Regions from separate parts of the Homo sapiens genome. Here all the other regions are linked to region 1. The links are contacts of gene promoters, found by promoter capture Hi-C in blood cells and fetal thymus (Javierre and others, 2016). All regions are on one chromosome and are shown on one strand. Each heading gives the region's core, a stretch centred on a gene start or on the middle of the fragment in contact. The rest is flanking DNA. Distances are from core to core; before and after follow the strand shown.

Region 1 (3,713 bases), core at 1-2,500:
AGGGGCAGCAGTGGTAGGACTACCTACCCAAGTCCAGATGCAGGCCAAGTATCGGGCGGAAGGGCTTGGGCACCACAATGGTCGTGTTGCCAAAGTTGGTGAAATAGACCATGAGGAGAGGTAGTGAGGCAGCTGTAGGTAGCAGCAGCTTATGGCGCCAGCGCAGATTCAGTACATCATCCGCAAAGCCCAGGAAGATCATGCAGCAGATGGCAAGGAGGGCACCTATCAGGGCCACAAACTGGGGGAGGCTCGGGCAGGTCCATGACTCAAGCCTGCTCCCATTCCACCTTTTAAGAATTCCTGTCTTTTCTGATAATTTCTTAGCCCCTCCCCACAAGCCCAAATAACCCCAGTTCTCTCAGGTACCTCCCAGGTCCCAGCCACAGGCAATCACCCCCACGAACCCACTTACTTCATGGTGGGGGAATGCCTTACACTGCTCCTTCACAAAGCAGTTCAGGAAGGGGAAAGGGATGAAGCAGAAGAGGATGATAAGGAAAACAGCACCGCTGATCACTCCCTGGGATTCTGGGCTGTGGCCCAGCAGCAAGGGGGCGAGGGGGAAGAGGAAAGGGGGCGTGGTCACTCACTAGTGCAGGTGTTACAGTAACCCAAAGTGGTCTTCTCATTCCCGGTTTTTTATTCTGGTAAGTGGTGAGGGGGGCGGAGGGAGGAAAGCACCACTGCCAGAGTCCCAGATATACCCAAGGGTCCCTACCCATCCTTTCCCCAATGCGAGTAAGTTCTGCTCATCACCTCTCCGAGTTCCAGGCTGCCTGGGTTAGTTCTGAGTCTTCACGTGTGGTCAAGCACCCCGGTTCCCGCCCCTGCCCTAGCCACTCCTTCCTTAGCCCTTGCCCCCTGCCCGGACCCGTGTGCCGCTGCTCACATCTGCTGTCGGCTGGTTTTGTTGAGGTCCTGACCACAGAGGCGCGCAGCAATGAAGTGGCCCCGGAAGGCCGGGATGAGGGTGACTGTGGCCACAAATCCCAGCAGCGAGACGATCAAATTGATCAGCAGCGGCATGGGCAATTCCGAGAAGGCCCACATGGTGACCGGTCAGGGGCCCGGCTCCGCCGCCTCTTCAGGTAACGGGCAAGCTGAGCAGCAGTCCTGAGGCCTCAGCAGTATGGAGTGGCCGCTCCCCACAGGCAGGCTCTTCCCACACCAATCTGAGCAAAACCCAGCAACTCTGACTTGAGCCGCCGTCGGGACACCGGGGAACCTCTCTAAGGCAACCTATGTTCTGCCCCGCTGCACCCGCCTATCTACTGTTTCCGCCCGGATCTTGTTCGCTGAACAACCATTACTGCGGAAGGCGGCGGCCGCCATTTTTAATATGGGCATTAGAGGGTGGGGATGGAAGTGGAAGAGAAGTGTGATTCCAAATTTCATCCTATGTTCAAGAGTAGAATCACCGAGAGAGTACTGGAAACGCAATTAAAGAAAGGCAGCCAAGAACGGATACTTCCCTAACATTATGTTAAAGATGTACTACCCAGAGCGGAAATGCCAATTGCCCGGTTCCAAGATGAATGCCTCCTTGTACCACGTGTCTGACACCGCTCACATTCCGGTTCCACGTCAGTTTTAGCTCCGTCCGCCTCCATAGGTCAAGCTTAAAGGGCCCGTACCTCTCCCTTAATCTGGGATGCCTCCGGCTCCAGGAAGATGGCTATTGAAAGGCAGGGGGTGGGGAGGAGGGACGAGGGTGTGGAGACGCGCCTGTTTCTTGCAGGAAACCTGTTGCCAACATAGTCGGAAGCCAAGGTAAACACAACTCAGTTCCCGGAAACAAAGCTACGATTTGGAAGGATGGTGTAAATTCTAAAGCGTAGATCCTTGAAAAGCCCCTCCCACTCTGTTTTTCTTGTCCTCGATTCTGGTATTTTTTTCTCAGCATCCCACCCACCTTCTGCCCCAGCTGTAGCAGTTAGTTGCCCGGCAACCCAGCGCAGCACTTCACTGAGGGATTGGGAGTACCCTCAGGTCTTGGATTTAACTCGAGACTTCAGCTTGGCCGTGGATCACTGCATTGTACCTAGCTCCCACAAGGAGGAGATGGAGATTTCCAGGCTGAGGCTCTGGAAAGAGCTGAGGAGGGAGAGGAATCAGACCCACAACTGATTTCCTGTGAGTCTGAGGAACTCCCAGTCAGGTTTCTTCCTGTAGGTCACTGTGCATTTTGCTTGGCCTCCTGCAGGTTGCTGTGCATTTTGCTTGGCCTGTTCCCCTGCAAACAACAATTCACCAGCTTTTTTTTTTTTTTTTTTTTTTTTTTTTTGAGACAGAGTTTCGCTCTTGTTGCCCAGGCTGGAGTGCAATGGCGCGATCTCGGCTCACCGAAACCTCCACCTCCCAGGTTCAAGAGATTCTCCTGCCTCAGCCTCCCGAGTAGCTGGGATTACAGGCAGTAGCTGGAATTACAGGCATGCGCCACCACGCCCGGCTAATTTTGTATTTTTAGTAGAGACGGGATTTCCCTATGTTGGTCAGGCTGGTTTGGGACTCCCGACCTCAGGTGATCTGCCCGCCTTGGCCTCCCAAAATGCTGGGAGTACAGGCGTGAGCCACCACGCCCAGCCAGTTCACCAGCATCTTTATTACCTTTCATTCCCCGACAGGCTCTTAGGCGGCAAATGATTTCCATTTGTCAGAGAGGAAGTCACCACCAGTGAGTTAGGGAAAGGACTCCAATAGCCTAGCGCTTTGTCCACTCTTCCCTCTATGGCATGTTCCAGGAGTCAGGGTCATGTTGACCGTTTTTAAGCCGAAGATAGTTTCTTCTTTCCCTCAAAATCAGATGTGAGGCCGGGCGCAGTGGCTAACGTCTGTAATCCCAGCACTTTGGTAGGCGAAGGTGGGTGGCTCACTTGAGGTCAGGAGTTCGAGACCAGCCTGGCCAACACGGTGAAACCCCGTCTCTACTGAAAATACAAAAATTAGCCGGGTGTGGTGGCACATGCCTGTAATCTCAGCTACTCAGGAGGCTGAGGCAGGAGGATCGCTTGAACCTGGGATGAGGAGGTTGCAGTGAGCCGCGATCATGCCACTGCATCCCAGCCTGGGCAACAGAGGGGAAACTGTCTCAAAACAAACAAACAAACAAACTAAATCAGATGTGAAATGGCTTTTCTACTTGAAAATGGCTCTAATTAACAACAACAAAAACCCAGATATGTATAAAATACATAAATTTTCGTAATTTACTTGCTAGTATTCCACCAGATTTTCAGTACTTATCCCACTGCTATTATTTTTCTGTGTGTGTTGTGTGTATGCACGTGTGCCCCTTTTAAACTAGAAACTCCCGGGAGGCAAGTGTTTTCTCTTCCACAGGGTGTCCCCATGGGGCTAGGAACACAGACATCTGTGTACAAGGAAGGCATCATCACACATAATGAGGCTGAGGCTGAAAGGAGGACTGAGGGCAATAGGTGCATATGGAGGGAGCAATTAGTTGTGACCAGAGTAAGTGGTCTTGAGGAAGAGAAGTATCATTTCAGTAGATTATAAGAGTAGAAGGACCTTTCACAGGCAGCGACAGTGAGACACCAGAAGCTGGTGGAAAGGAGGAGCTTGTGGGATCCCAGAGGAGGCAGCATTCAGTTATCTTGTTGATGACGAGTATACTGAGACTCCCTGGAGGTCTGAGAGCCAGTCTGTATCTATTTCCTTTTTTATTAGGAGGCCAATCCTAATAAATCTTC
Region 2 (3,713 bases), core at 511-3,010, 2.0 Mb before region 1:
TTGCAATCTACCCATCTGACAAAGGGCTAATATCCAGAATCTACAAAGAACTTAAACAAATTTACAAGAAAAAAAACAAACAACCCCATCAAAAAGTGGGCAAAGGATATGAACAGACACTTCTCAAAAGAAGACATTTATGCAACCAACAGACACATGAAAAAATGCTCATCATCACTGGTCATCAGAGAAATGCAAATCAAAACCACAATGAGATACCATCTCATGCCAGTTAGAATGGCGATCATTAAAAAGTCAGGAAACAACAGATGCTGGAGAGGATGTGGAGAAAGAGGAACACTTTTACACTGTTGGAGGGAGTGTAAATTAATTCAACCATTGTGAAAGACAGTGTGGCGATTCCTCAAGGATCTAGAACTAGAAATACCATTTGACCCAGCCATCCCATTACTGGGTATATACCCAAAGGATTATAAATCATGCTGCTATAAAGATACATGCACACGTATGTTTATTGTGGCACTATTCACAATAGCAAAGACTTGGAACCAACCCAAATGTCCATCAATGATAGACTGGATTAAGAAAATGTGGCACATATACACCACGAAATACTATGCAGCTGTAAAAAGGATGAGTTCATATCCTTTGCAGGGACATGGACGAAACTGGAAACCATCATTCTCAGCAAACTATCACAAGGACAGAAAACCAAACACCGCATGTTCTCATAGGTGGGAATTGAACACTGAGAACACTTGGACAAAGGGCGGGGAACATCACACACGGGGGCCTGTCGGGGACTGCGGGGCTGGGGGAGGGATAGCATTAGGAGAAATACGGAATGTAAATGACGAGTTGATGGGTGCAGCAAACCAACATGGCACACGTATACCTATGTAACAAACCTGCACGTTGTGCACATGTACCCTAGAACTTGAATAAAAAAAAAAAAAAAAAAGAAAAATTACTTGACATATCTTGACATTTTAGGCTCCCAGGATTTTACAGTATTCTTAACAGGTTTTGTCAGCAAAATCAACCCCCACCCCCGCATCAGTTTAAGAGCCCTGGAAGGCTCTGCCTATTCACCAGCATAGAGCTGAGATCCTTAAAGGGCCAGTTCAGGGCACTGCTCCAGCAACCGTTGCGCTGCTATAAGCTTGAGCACATCTCTTGCCCCTCCTCTCTACTTTTATAGATCCTGCATTTATTTAGCATATAATCTTTTCAATATTGACTTTGTATATGTATGTCTTCCCCTAAACTGGATGTATCTTTTAAGGAAAAGCCTGGGGTTCGTCATCCCCCTATGTATCACCTTTACAGGCGGTCACCCAAAATCTCCACATTCATCATAGAAACAGAAATTCCACTAATAAATGTCAGGTACTGCCTCCTTAACCTTGGTCCGCTATTTCCCTCCCACTTTCAGCAGTCTGGTTTATTCCATGGGTGGAAGAGGAAGCCAAGTTGGCTGAGTGTGAAGGGAATGGCGTCAGTGTGACTTCACGCCACATCGTCCCGAATGCCAGCTCCACACTGCGGTGGCACGAACGCAGGATTGAGAGATGCAGCTGGAGTAAAGAGAGAAGCCCATGTCCCTCAGACGCCACACAAAATGGGGGTAACCGCGAGAACAAAGCAGGGTACCCAACGGGGTGTGGCGGGACACCTGGGCGCACGCCGCCAGCGCCCGGGAGAGCGAAGGCGGGGAGAGAGGAACCACGCTGAGGCGTGGCAGGATGGGGGCGGGACTTCCGGAAGCCATTTGGCTGAGTGGCAGGGGAACCGGAAGTGGAGGAGCTGCTGCTGGTGCTGGGGCCGGAGGAGGGACGCGCCGGAGCGGGACCGACGGGACCGAGCGAGCGACCGACGCGCCACCCGCCGACGCCTCAGCCGCTTGGGGCCCGCACGGACCCTCTACTTCAGTGAGTGCATCCAGGGTCGCAGGGAACCGGTGGCTTAGAGGCGGGGGTCGGAAGGGGCTGCGAGGTGTTATTGTGAGAGGCCCGCGACCTCCCCTCCCCCACCCTTGCGGCCCCTCCCCCCACGCCGCCCCATCCACTTGGGGGGGGCCTCGCGAGCGCGCGCCTTCTCTGCGGGCCCAGCGTCGGCTTCCCAGCAGCCGGCGCAGCTAGTTTTCGCTCTGAGAGCCCTTTCCCGATATTCCATACCGAAAGCTGGCGTTTCTCCTCAGCCGCCGGCCGGCGCCTCCACGGCCTTTCCCAGGAGGGTAGCGCGGCGGGCGCCCCGCCCCGCCCTGCCCTGCCCTGCCCTGCCGGGCCCACCCGCGGTAGGCCTTGCGCACCCCAGCTCGCCCCGGCTGGGCGCTGCAGCTCCTGCCCGGGTCTCCGCTGCTGCCTTTTCCCTTTATCACAGGGGTCTAACTTCTCACTCTTCTCTCCCCTCGCGTCTGGTCGGAGGCCAAAACCAGTTACTCCGTTGTGTTTTTACCGAGCACTTTTCCCTCCTCCTTTTGTTGAAAAATTTCAACTCTTTAGAAACTTCTCCGTTGCCTCTTAGGATGTGTTTATTCAAAAGTTGCATAGACCGTCACCACTCGGAAGGGATTATTTCTTGGAAGGCTTTCCAGCCCCCATCTCATCTTAGACATGAATGTGCTCGGAGCGGCTGGTGACCTGCCCAAGGTCAGCCAGCTAGATAAACCTGTCAGCGGAGAGGTTTGGGGGGATGTTTTTTTCCTGGCTCACCGTCCGTTTGCCAGATCCGTGCCTTCTGGTCTACAGGTTTGATTGACCCGTTGCGTGGTGACTCATGCTTCTGCTTTTCATAGCTCGCAGGCCAGCGTTGCTTTTCAGAATTTATACACAAACAAGAACTAACACTCGGAGCTTTCGCCTCTTTGTAGAGCTTACCCGTAGAGAAAGGAAAGACCACCCGGATCCACCCTAGGACCTCATTTTGTACAGCTTGAAATTATGGGAAGGGGTTGGGCCGGGGGTAAAGGTGTGGAGAAAGTGGAAGGAGAAAGTGCTTAATTAAGATTGTCTTTGCCTTGGATGTGCCTTGTGTCTTTGGCTTCTTCTGGGCACATTGTTCTGACATAAAGGTTGCCTCCTTGTGGGGGAGAAGGGGAGGATTAGTTTGTTGGCTTGGGCATTTGATCATAAATTATGGAGGTGCTGGACCGGAGGAACCACCCACCAGCCCACGGAGGCTACCGGGCATTCAGGATAAGGGCCGCCTTCTTCTTCAGAATAACCATACCCACTCCCTCTGAAACAAAGTGGAGAGTCTTAGGTCTGAGTGGAAACTCTAAATCTTTTAATTCTTGGTTCAACTTTCTTCATCTGTTTTCCTGGTTCAGACTAAAACATCTAACTCAGCTGGAGAAGTTATAACGCTTTGTTGTTGGACGTGGTTTCTCATTAAATACATTGCACTATGCTGGTATAAGCACTTGGAAATTCTAGTGCTGTATTGTCATAGTAAGTAGAGAATATAGAAAAGGCAGGAAAATCGTGCAAGTCGGTTACTCCTCGTCTTCCCAGAGAACTCACTTTAATGGACAACAAAGCTTCCCCTGGAGTACAGTCTGTTGTGGCAAATTAACAAAACTTGTTCTTCAGACCTTTTATTTGCATTCTGCTTGGTCTTTCTTTCTTTTTTTTTTTTTTTTTTTGTGTGTGTGACGGAGTCTCAGTCTGTCGCCCAGGCTGGAGTGCAGTGGCGCGATCTCTACTCACTACAACCTCTGCCTCCCGGTTCAAGCTTATAGGCATGTGCCA
Region 3 (3,713 bases), core at 561-3,060, 1.9 Mb before region 1:
CGGTTAACTGGTCGATCGGGACCTATCCTGATGACACACCAGCAACTACCAGGCCAGCAATATTACAGTGAGTTGGTATGCCGGTATGATGTTCCTTGGCAGCTAAAAGTTTCTGTGATCTTTGTATCATTTGCTTTATCACTGTTCACCTCAGTGGTATACTGTTGGATTAAAATGATTTGCTGCTTTAGGAGGAAAAATTTGGAGGTAAATTGAGACATTTTGTTTTTCTAGCTGCCCTTCCCCCCTCCCCAGTATCTCATCACACCAAGTTCCTCTCCACCCACACTCCTGGAGGCCTTTGTCAGCTGCTTGCAGGCCACACAGCAGCAGTGAAAGCAGCCTGGATCTTGAAGCTTTGCTTTACTGTATGTGGATTACCCCATGTGAACCTCTTAAATGGCCCAGAACAAGTGGAAGTGGTAGTAATGTGGAAGAAAGAAAAAGCTCCCTCACCAGCATCTGTACTTGAGGGGAAAACTGGACAAACCAACATGAGAATCTGTCCCCTAATTTATTTTCCAGCCATGGCAGAGATGAAATCTTAACCCAATGACATGTTTTTACATAGCTATAAAGCAAAGATCTTCAATGTTTTGCTAAACATATAATATTTGTGGCCTGATATTATGCTATGCCTTTTGCCTACTTGCTGGTTCATTCTAGCTTTATATATATATATATATATATATATATATATATATATATATATATATATATATATATTTTTTTTTTTTTTTTTTTTTTTTTACATTCTGGTCAAGCTTTGGCAGTATGCTTATAGTGGATTCATAACACATCAGTATACTGCAGCTTGCTTGTCAGCCACTGAGTTAAAAGATCAAGTCCAAGCCATTAAATGTAACATCTAACAGTCTCCATGACCTGGCCTCTTTAATTTGTAACCTTCCACCCTTTACTTTGAACTTTTCTGCCAAGAGCACTGAGCTTCCTTTATGTTTTTGCCCATAGTTGGGAGCCCCCTATCTGGAATATGCTCTTACCCCTTTGCTGGTCTAGCTCCTACTCTATTTTTATTTTTTGGAAACAGTCTCGCTTTGTTGCCCAGGCTGGAGTGCAGTGGTGCAATCTTGGTTTACTGCAATCTCTGCCTCCTGGATTCATGTAGTTCATGTGCCTCAGCCTACTGAGTAGCTGGAATTACAGGCGTGTACCACCACGCCTGGCTAGTTTTTGTGTTTTTAGTAGAGACAGGGTTCGCCATGTTTACCAGGCTGGTCTCGAATTCCTGGCCTCAGGCAATCGGCCCGCCTTAGCCTCCCAAAGTTCTGGGATAACAGGCATGAGCCACCGCGGACCCAGCCGCCTGTCTTCTGATTTCTAAGCCAAAGACCCAAGCTTTCTTGAAATAAGAGAGCTGGCTCATTTTTATCGGTGATCTTTGGAGGCAGAGATTTGAGACGGTCAAGTATTTATCTGCTTGTTTTCTGCAACCTGATGACCAGCCTTGTTTCCTGGAAAGCTCTGATGTTGGTTTCATCACGTGGCCAGAGGGAACCAGATGCAGGGCCTGAGTATATCACAGATATTTCCCAGTGTGAATGGTGAAAGCCCAGTTTTAGGAAATGGAAAGTGACTGACCTATCTCTAGGAGAAAGTACTGCCCACTTGGTCAGAGCTTATCTCGTTTGTCTCTCTTCCTGTTCTTTAGACAGTAGGATGGTGAATGCAGGGAAGCCTAGCTCCACTGTGAGTACTTAGGACAGTAGAGACCAAGTCCAGACAAGGCTCCCAAAAGGCTCAGAAAGCTCAAGTGGTTTGCCTAAAGCACACAATGCAGGGATTTCACTGTAGAACTTTTTTTTTCTTTTTTCTTTTTCTTTGAATGGATGAGAGGTTTTTATGTTGCCCAGGTTGGCCTCAAACACGTAGCCTCGCCTCCTTATGTGCCAGGGCAACAGGCCTGAGCCACCGCAGCTCCCAGTGACTGTAGAACTTTTTGACATCAAAGTCCGTCCTTTTTCCGTAATACCATGAAGCCATGTGACAGGTTTGAGACCTTCCCCAGTATGGCAGATTAAATCCTGTGTCTTTAACTGATTCCCAATCTAACATGCATCCAGTCTTTGCAGTCCTTGCAGGAAGAGAGATAACCAGACACAAGGGCAGCCCTGGGAAAGAACAGAACTTGTATGATGGAAAGAAGTGCTGAACTCTTGCTGGAGCTGCTTATGTCTGGGACAATTCTTTCTAAGCACCAAATGAAAAAACAGCCCTTTTTATAATCACAGTGAAAACAGAAAGCTTCAGGTTCATTTCCTTCAGAGGGGTTGGTTTTGAATCTTTTTTTTCTGGGTTAAAGTTATACCATTACATGATACTAAAATCTGTTTTGATTCTGTCTCCCACCCATAGGCATGGCTACTCCCTACCTCCCAGGTTCCTAAATAATTTGATTGGATTCAGCTAATCCATTTACTGTGATTCTTACAAAATCCTGCTCGAGTGCAGTCTTCATGTCTTTTGTGTGTGTGTGTGTGTGTGTGTGTGTGTGTGTGTGTGTGTGGCAGTTTCACTCTTGTTGCCCAGGCTGGAGCACAATGGCCTGTGGTCGCACACTGCAACCTCTGCCTCCCAGGTTCAAGTGATTCTCCTGCCTCAGCCTCCCGAGTAGCTGGGATTACAGGCGCCTGCCACCACACCCAGCTAATTTTTGTGTTTTTATCAGAGACGGGGTTTCACCATGTTGGCCAGGCTGGTCTCAAACTCCTGACCTCAGGTGATCCACCCACCTCAGCCTCCCAAAGTACTGGAATTACAGGCGTGAGTCACCGCCCCTGGCCATTTTTTTTTCTTTTTTTTTAGTGGTGTTTCACTCGTTGCCCAGGCATGCAATGGCGTGATCTCAGCTCACCGCAACCTCTGCCTCCCAGGTTCAAGCGATTCTCCTGCCTCAGCCTCCGAAGTAGCCGGGATCATAAGCATGTGCCACCACGCCCGGCTAATTTTGTATTTTTAGTAGAGACAGGGTTTCTCCATGTCTGTCAGGCTGGGCTCGAATTCCTGATCTCAGGTGATCCGTCCACCTTGGCCTCCCAAAGTGCTGGGATTACAGGCGTGAGCCACTGCACCTGACCTAATTTTCTGTATTTTTAGTAGAGACGGGCTTTTACCATGTTGGCCAGGCTGGTCTCAAACTCCTGACTTCAGATGATCCAACCGCCTTGGCCTCCCAAAGTGCTGGGATTACAGGCGTGAGTCACCGCACCAGGCCATCTTCAGGTCATTTTAACAATACCCCTGAGCCACCTGAAGCTTCCTCCCTGTCCTCTCACCCCAAACTTCATAAATCCCCTGTGACTTAAAATGGAGCTGGACTCATGGGTCCAGCAAGCTCCTCAGCTGTGTGTTGAATGGTCCCATTTCTTTGGTCCATTCAACACTCAGGCTCAGGAAGGGTGGTCCACAGGGAAATATAAGTCAAATAAGCCTTATGGCCCCACCCTGACCGCTTGAGGGCCACGGTTAGGGTTGAGCTCTTTGTATATTATGCCAGGGAATGCGGTAGCTGGACCTGTGCACAAGGCCAGGATCACATCCCTGAGGCCCCGACATCTCCCCTGTGTGCTCACAAGTCTGGCTTTGAGACACACCACTGCCTTTTTTTGCTGACTGCTGCAGCCAACAAAAAGGCATTCTCTCCCAGTGGACAGACCTCAGAAAGGACCTATTCATAAGTGCGGGGTAGGGCA
Region 4 (3,713 bases), core at 843-3,342, 1.1 Mb after region 1:
CCACACCCGGCTAATTTTTGTATTTTAGTAGAGACGGGTTTTGCCATGTTGGCCAGGCTGGTCTCGAACTACTGACCTCAGGTGATCCACCCGCCTCGGCATCCCAAAGTGTTGGGATTACAGGTGTGAGCCACCGCGCCCAGCCAAAAAAATGTTTCTGAAAGAATATGTGTACATGCACGCGTATACATGTGGCAGGGGGTGAGAGGGAGAGACTTGTATAATCAGAGATTTAGTATGTGATACAATGGGAAAGAATAAACAGAATTAAAGGATAACAGCCACCATTTATTGGATCTGTACTATATGCCAAACATGTTGCGAAATATTTTATGCACAATGTTTCATTTAATTTTCAAAGCAACCCAGTGAGGGAGAAACGTATGCGCCCATTTTACAGTTGAAGAAACAGGCTCACTGACGCACAGCTCATGACTGGGGCCGAGCTCCAGGACTGAGATCCTGATGCCCATTTTCTGAACCACTACTGGCTACTGCTTTCCAAGGGCTAGAGATGAGAAAAAAAAGGAAATTGGTTTATGGTGTGGCAGAGGTCTTGCGATGAGACATGAAGAACTCTCTGACAATGAGGGCTGTTTGGTTGTAGTCGGAGTAATTAGGCTTGTTAGAGCTCTTCCTCTGACGGCCTTTACATTTAAGATGAATGGATGCTTCTATGCCCGGATGGTTTGAGGGAAACGCTGTCTGTTCCCAGCACGGGGCTGGCCTGTTTGAACTAGCTGACGGCTTCACTGGGGATACAGGATTGCCACACGCGAAACCGTTAGATAACAGGAGAAGATAGCGCAGGATGTGAGCCCCGAGTGGGACTGGCAGAAAGTGAGGGCTACCGACAGGCAGAGGCTACTGTGGTTCAAAGCAAGGGCTTTGTGGTCAGGCGGGCAGACTTGTGTTTGAGTCCCGGCTGGCTCTACTGCTTTTGTGACCTTGGGTATGTTGCCTAACCTCTCTAAGCTTTGGTTTCCTAGTCAGTAAAAAGAGCCTAAGAATAGAACCTACTTTGGAGGGATGCCATGAAAATTAAATAAGATGATCCATGTAAAATGCTTGGCACAGAACCTGGACATAATCAAAATACAATGGGGGAGGAGCTGCTATAATAATGACTATTGTTGGAGTCCAGAGGCCGGAGACAGTGGCACAGAACAGAGGGCTAGGTCGGTGGGGAGTCGAGAAAGTCTTCCTGGGAAACCTGAGTTTTGTCCTGGAGCTTGAAGAGGTGGTCAGGTGAAATCAATAGCAAGGCATAGAGATGTAGGTAGGCAGGGCTTATGTAATGGAGTGAGATTTCAAATGCCCTATCACTTTCAAAGAAAAATCTGGTTTGATCTGTGGTTGAAGTAGAGAAGGAAGTTGACTATGGGGAAGAGGTGGGAAAGAGATGAGGTCTTCCATCCTTGTTTCCAAACCCAAAATGTGAACAGAGACAAACCTCAGGGACCTAAACAAGAAATCTGACATCCAGGGCTTCTTTGCCCACTTCTGGGCTGTTGTGGGAGGAGAAGGGGTAAGAGCCTGGGAAATGGCTGAGGGCAGAGCTGGTGGCGGATGGGGACAGGACCTGAAACAAGGGAAGTTAGGAAATGTGGGCGAGGCCCTTAATGACTGTGTGGGCTGACTCATGTGGGAGACCTAGCTTCAAGGCCGCATGGAGATCCAGCATCCTGTCAGGCGGGAGGCCAATTTCAAGACCCTGGGCATCTCTAGTCTAAACGGTTGCCAGCTAAGAGTGGGAGTCCTTAGGGGAGCAATCCTTGTGCTAATCCAATTATTCCCTAACAGCCTGCCTTATCTCCCGGATGTGAAGATGAACTCCTTAGGAGCCAGGTTCTCCAGGAAGGATGCTGCTTGTTTCAGATGCTCTATGTTTTTGTTTTGTTTTGTTTTGTTTTGTTTTGTAGAGACGGAGTCTTCCTCTGTCACCCAGGCTGGAGTGCAGTGGCGCAATTTTGGCTCGCTGCAACTTCTGCCTCCTGGGTTCAAGCAATTCTCCTACCCCAGCCTCCCGAGTAGCTGGGATTACAGGCGCACGCCGCCACACCCAGCTAATTTCTTTTGTATTTTAGTAGAGACGGGATTTCACCTTGTTGCCCAGGTTGGTCTCGAACTCCTGAGCTCAGGCAATCCGCCCGCCTCGGCCTCCCAAAGTGCTAGGATTACAGGCATGAGCCACCGCGTCTGGCCCAGACGCTCTATGCTTAAACATCTGCCAAATACCTGCTGTCAACCACTTATGTCGAGCATCATGTGGGCCTTGTCAAAAATGCTAATCCTCAGTTCTTTTCCCTAGAATCTGATTCCATGGGTTTAGGGATTCGGGAATCTATTTTCTAACAAGCATCCAGGTGATTCTTCAGGAAAGGCAAATTTGGAAAAGGCTGACTTGGTAGTCTCTTAAATTCCCTTCAGTCCTAAATCTAGGCAGCAGAGAGCGGGTAGCGGGAAGGGCCCCTGGATGATAGCAAGAGGCCGATTCTAGCCGGACCCTGCAGTTCACATGGCCCTGTGCTGGGGAAGCCCTAGAAGGGAAGGAGGCTGCAGAGAAGGGAGTTTTCACCCATCAGTAATCAAGGTCCCAACAGAAGTGAAAATGGAAGTCAGGGAACAATTGGTTTTGAGCATCTTCGTGGGGCTTTTTCCCTTGCCTGGGACTGGCAGGACAGTGTAGGTCTGAGCAGCTTCCACGATACACACGGGGACACTTAAGCCCAAAGAATTTTTAAAACGTGCCTAAATTCCACAACTAATCAGAGGAGGCAGCAATCCAGATCTCCTGGTCTTCACCCTTCTTATTGTTGGGGTGCACCGCAGGGCACGCATGTTTCCTTGTGGCTTGTGGGAAAGCCACTGTCGTGGAGCGCCAGCGTCCCGAGTCCCTGGAAATTCTCCCAAGTGACCTGGAATCCAACATTTCCCTGGATTTTCATAGTCTATAATAGAGAGAAAGAACCGGGTCTGCGGTGGTGGGCAGGACTGAGGAAAGGCCGTGAATGCGGGAAGCACGGGAGGCAGGACTGAAAAGGAAAGAGGCACAGGGGCTCACAAAACCTGAGGGCCGCGTCCCAGTGGGTGACCTGACCCATCAAGGTCTAACACCTGGCCGTGGCAAAGCTGGGCGAGAACCCCCGATCCACCCTCCCAGTGTGGGGCAGGGAAAAGGCAGAGTGCAAAGCGAGGTCTGATTTTGCAGAAGCTTTTTAGAAATTCGCTGTCAGAGAAACTGAAAGACCAAACAAAACCCCTAAAAATCCAAGCCCGATTATTTCATCCACGTGGCACAAAAGCAAGCCAAAAAAAAAAAAGCGGGGGGGGGGGGTGGCGGTGCAGGGCGGGGGAAGAGTCACCCGTCCTGCCCCTGCTGGAAGGAAGGGATTTGCCCCGGGAGAGCAAACTTCTGACTCCGCCTGGGTCGCTGACTCCGCGCGGCCGGGCGGGAGGGAGGTCGAGGAGGCCGCTCGCACAAAGCCGCGGAGCCGCTGCCCCCTCTCCCCGCCCCCTGCCCGGCCAACGCCGAAGTGCGGAGAGCAGCCGCGGGCCCTTTAAGGGCCGCGAGGTGCGCGGTCTCTTTAAGGCGGGTCCTGGTGGTTTCTGTTTTCTGAAGGAAGTGACGGGGGGTGGGATTGAATGAAAAGTGCAAAACACAGGCTCGCAGCGCTGGAGCCCGGGGCCGCGGAGCCGGGCCGGGGCAGCGC

The links. The method cuts DNA at HindIII sites, captures the fragments that hold promoters and counts their contacts. A CHiCAGO score of 5 or more calls a contact.
Region 2: a contact is called between the fragment with the promoter of PAFAH1B2 here and the fragment with the promoter of DPAGT1 in region 1, in 1 of 17 cell types (monocytes). The highest score is 9.2, in monocytes.
Region 3: a fragment that was not itself captured here is called in contact with the fragment with the promoter of DPAGT1 in region 1 in 1 of 17 cell types (monocytes); the score reaches 5.3 in monocytes.
Region 4: a fragment that was not itself captured here is called in contact with the fragment with the promoter of DPAGT1 in region 1 in 1 of 17 cell types (endothelial precursors); the score reaches 5.1 in endothelial precursors.

The regions. Positions count from the first base shown.
Region 1 is chr11:119,100,603-119,104,315 of GRCh38, forward strand. DPAGT1 (dolichyl-phosphate N-acetylglucosaminephosphotransferase 1) reads right to left here and starts at 1,251. Exons shown (of 9, transcript NM_001382.4): 1 at 893-1,251; 2 at 416-536; 3 at 28-241. The coding sequence starts at 1,053. It also overlaps a transcript of C2CD2L not described here. RefSeq lists enhancers at 379-1,092, 904-2,103, 1,286-1,595, 1,807-2,519. The HindIII fragment of the contact is 9,998 bases long and covers 1-1,619 here.
Region 2 is chr11:117,142,527-117,146,239 of GRCh38, forward strand. It overlaps PAFAH1B2 (platelet activating factor acetylhydrolase 1b catalytic subunit 2), which reads left to right and starts at 1,761. Exons shown (of 6, transcript NM_002572.4): 1 at 1,761-1,892. RefSeq lists a silencer at 1,971-2,290 and an enhancer at 2,841-3,020. The HindIII fragment of the contact is 2,379 bases long and covers 1,122-3,500 here.
Region 3 is chr11:117,171,680-117,175,392 of GRCh38, forward strand. It overlaps a transcript of PAFAH1B2 not described here. Among named protein-coding and RNA genes, the nearest start is that of SIDT2, 5.2 kb to the right of the region's middle. The HindIII fragment of the contact is 906 bases long and covers 1,358-2,263 here.
Region 4 is chr11:120,207,358-120,211,070 of GRCh38, forward strand. OAF (out at first homolog) reads left to right here and starts at 3,675. Exons shown (of 4, transcript NM_178507.4): 1 at 3,675-3,713. RefSeq lists an enhancer at 2,428-2,969 and a silencer at 3,303-3,562. The HindIII fragment of the contact is 2,239 bases long and covers 974-3,212 here.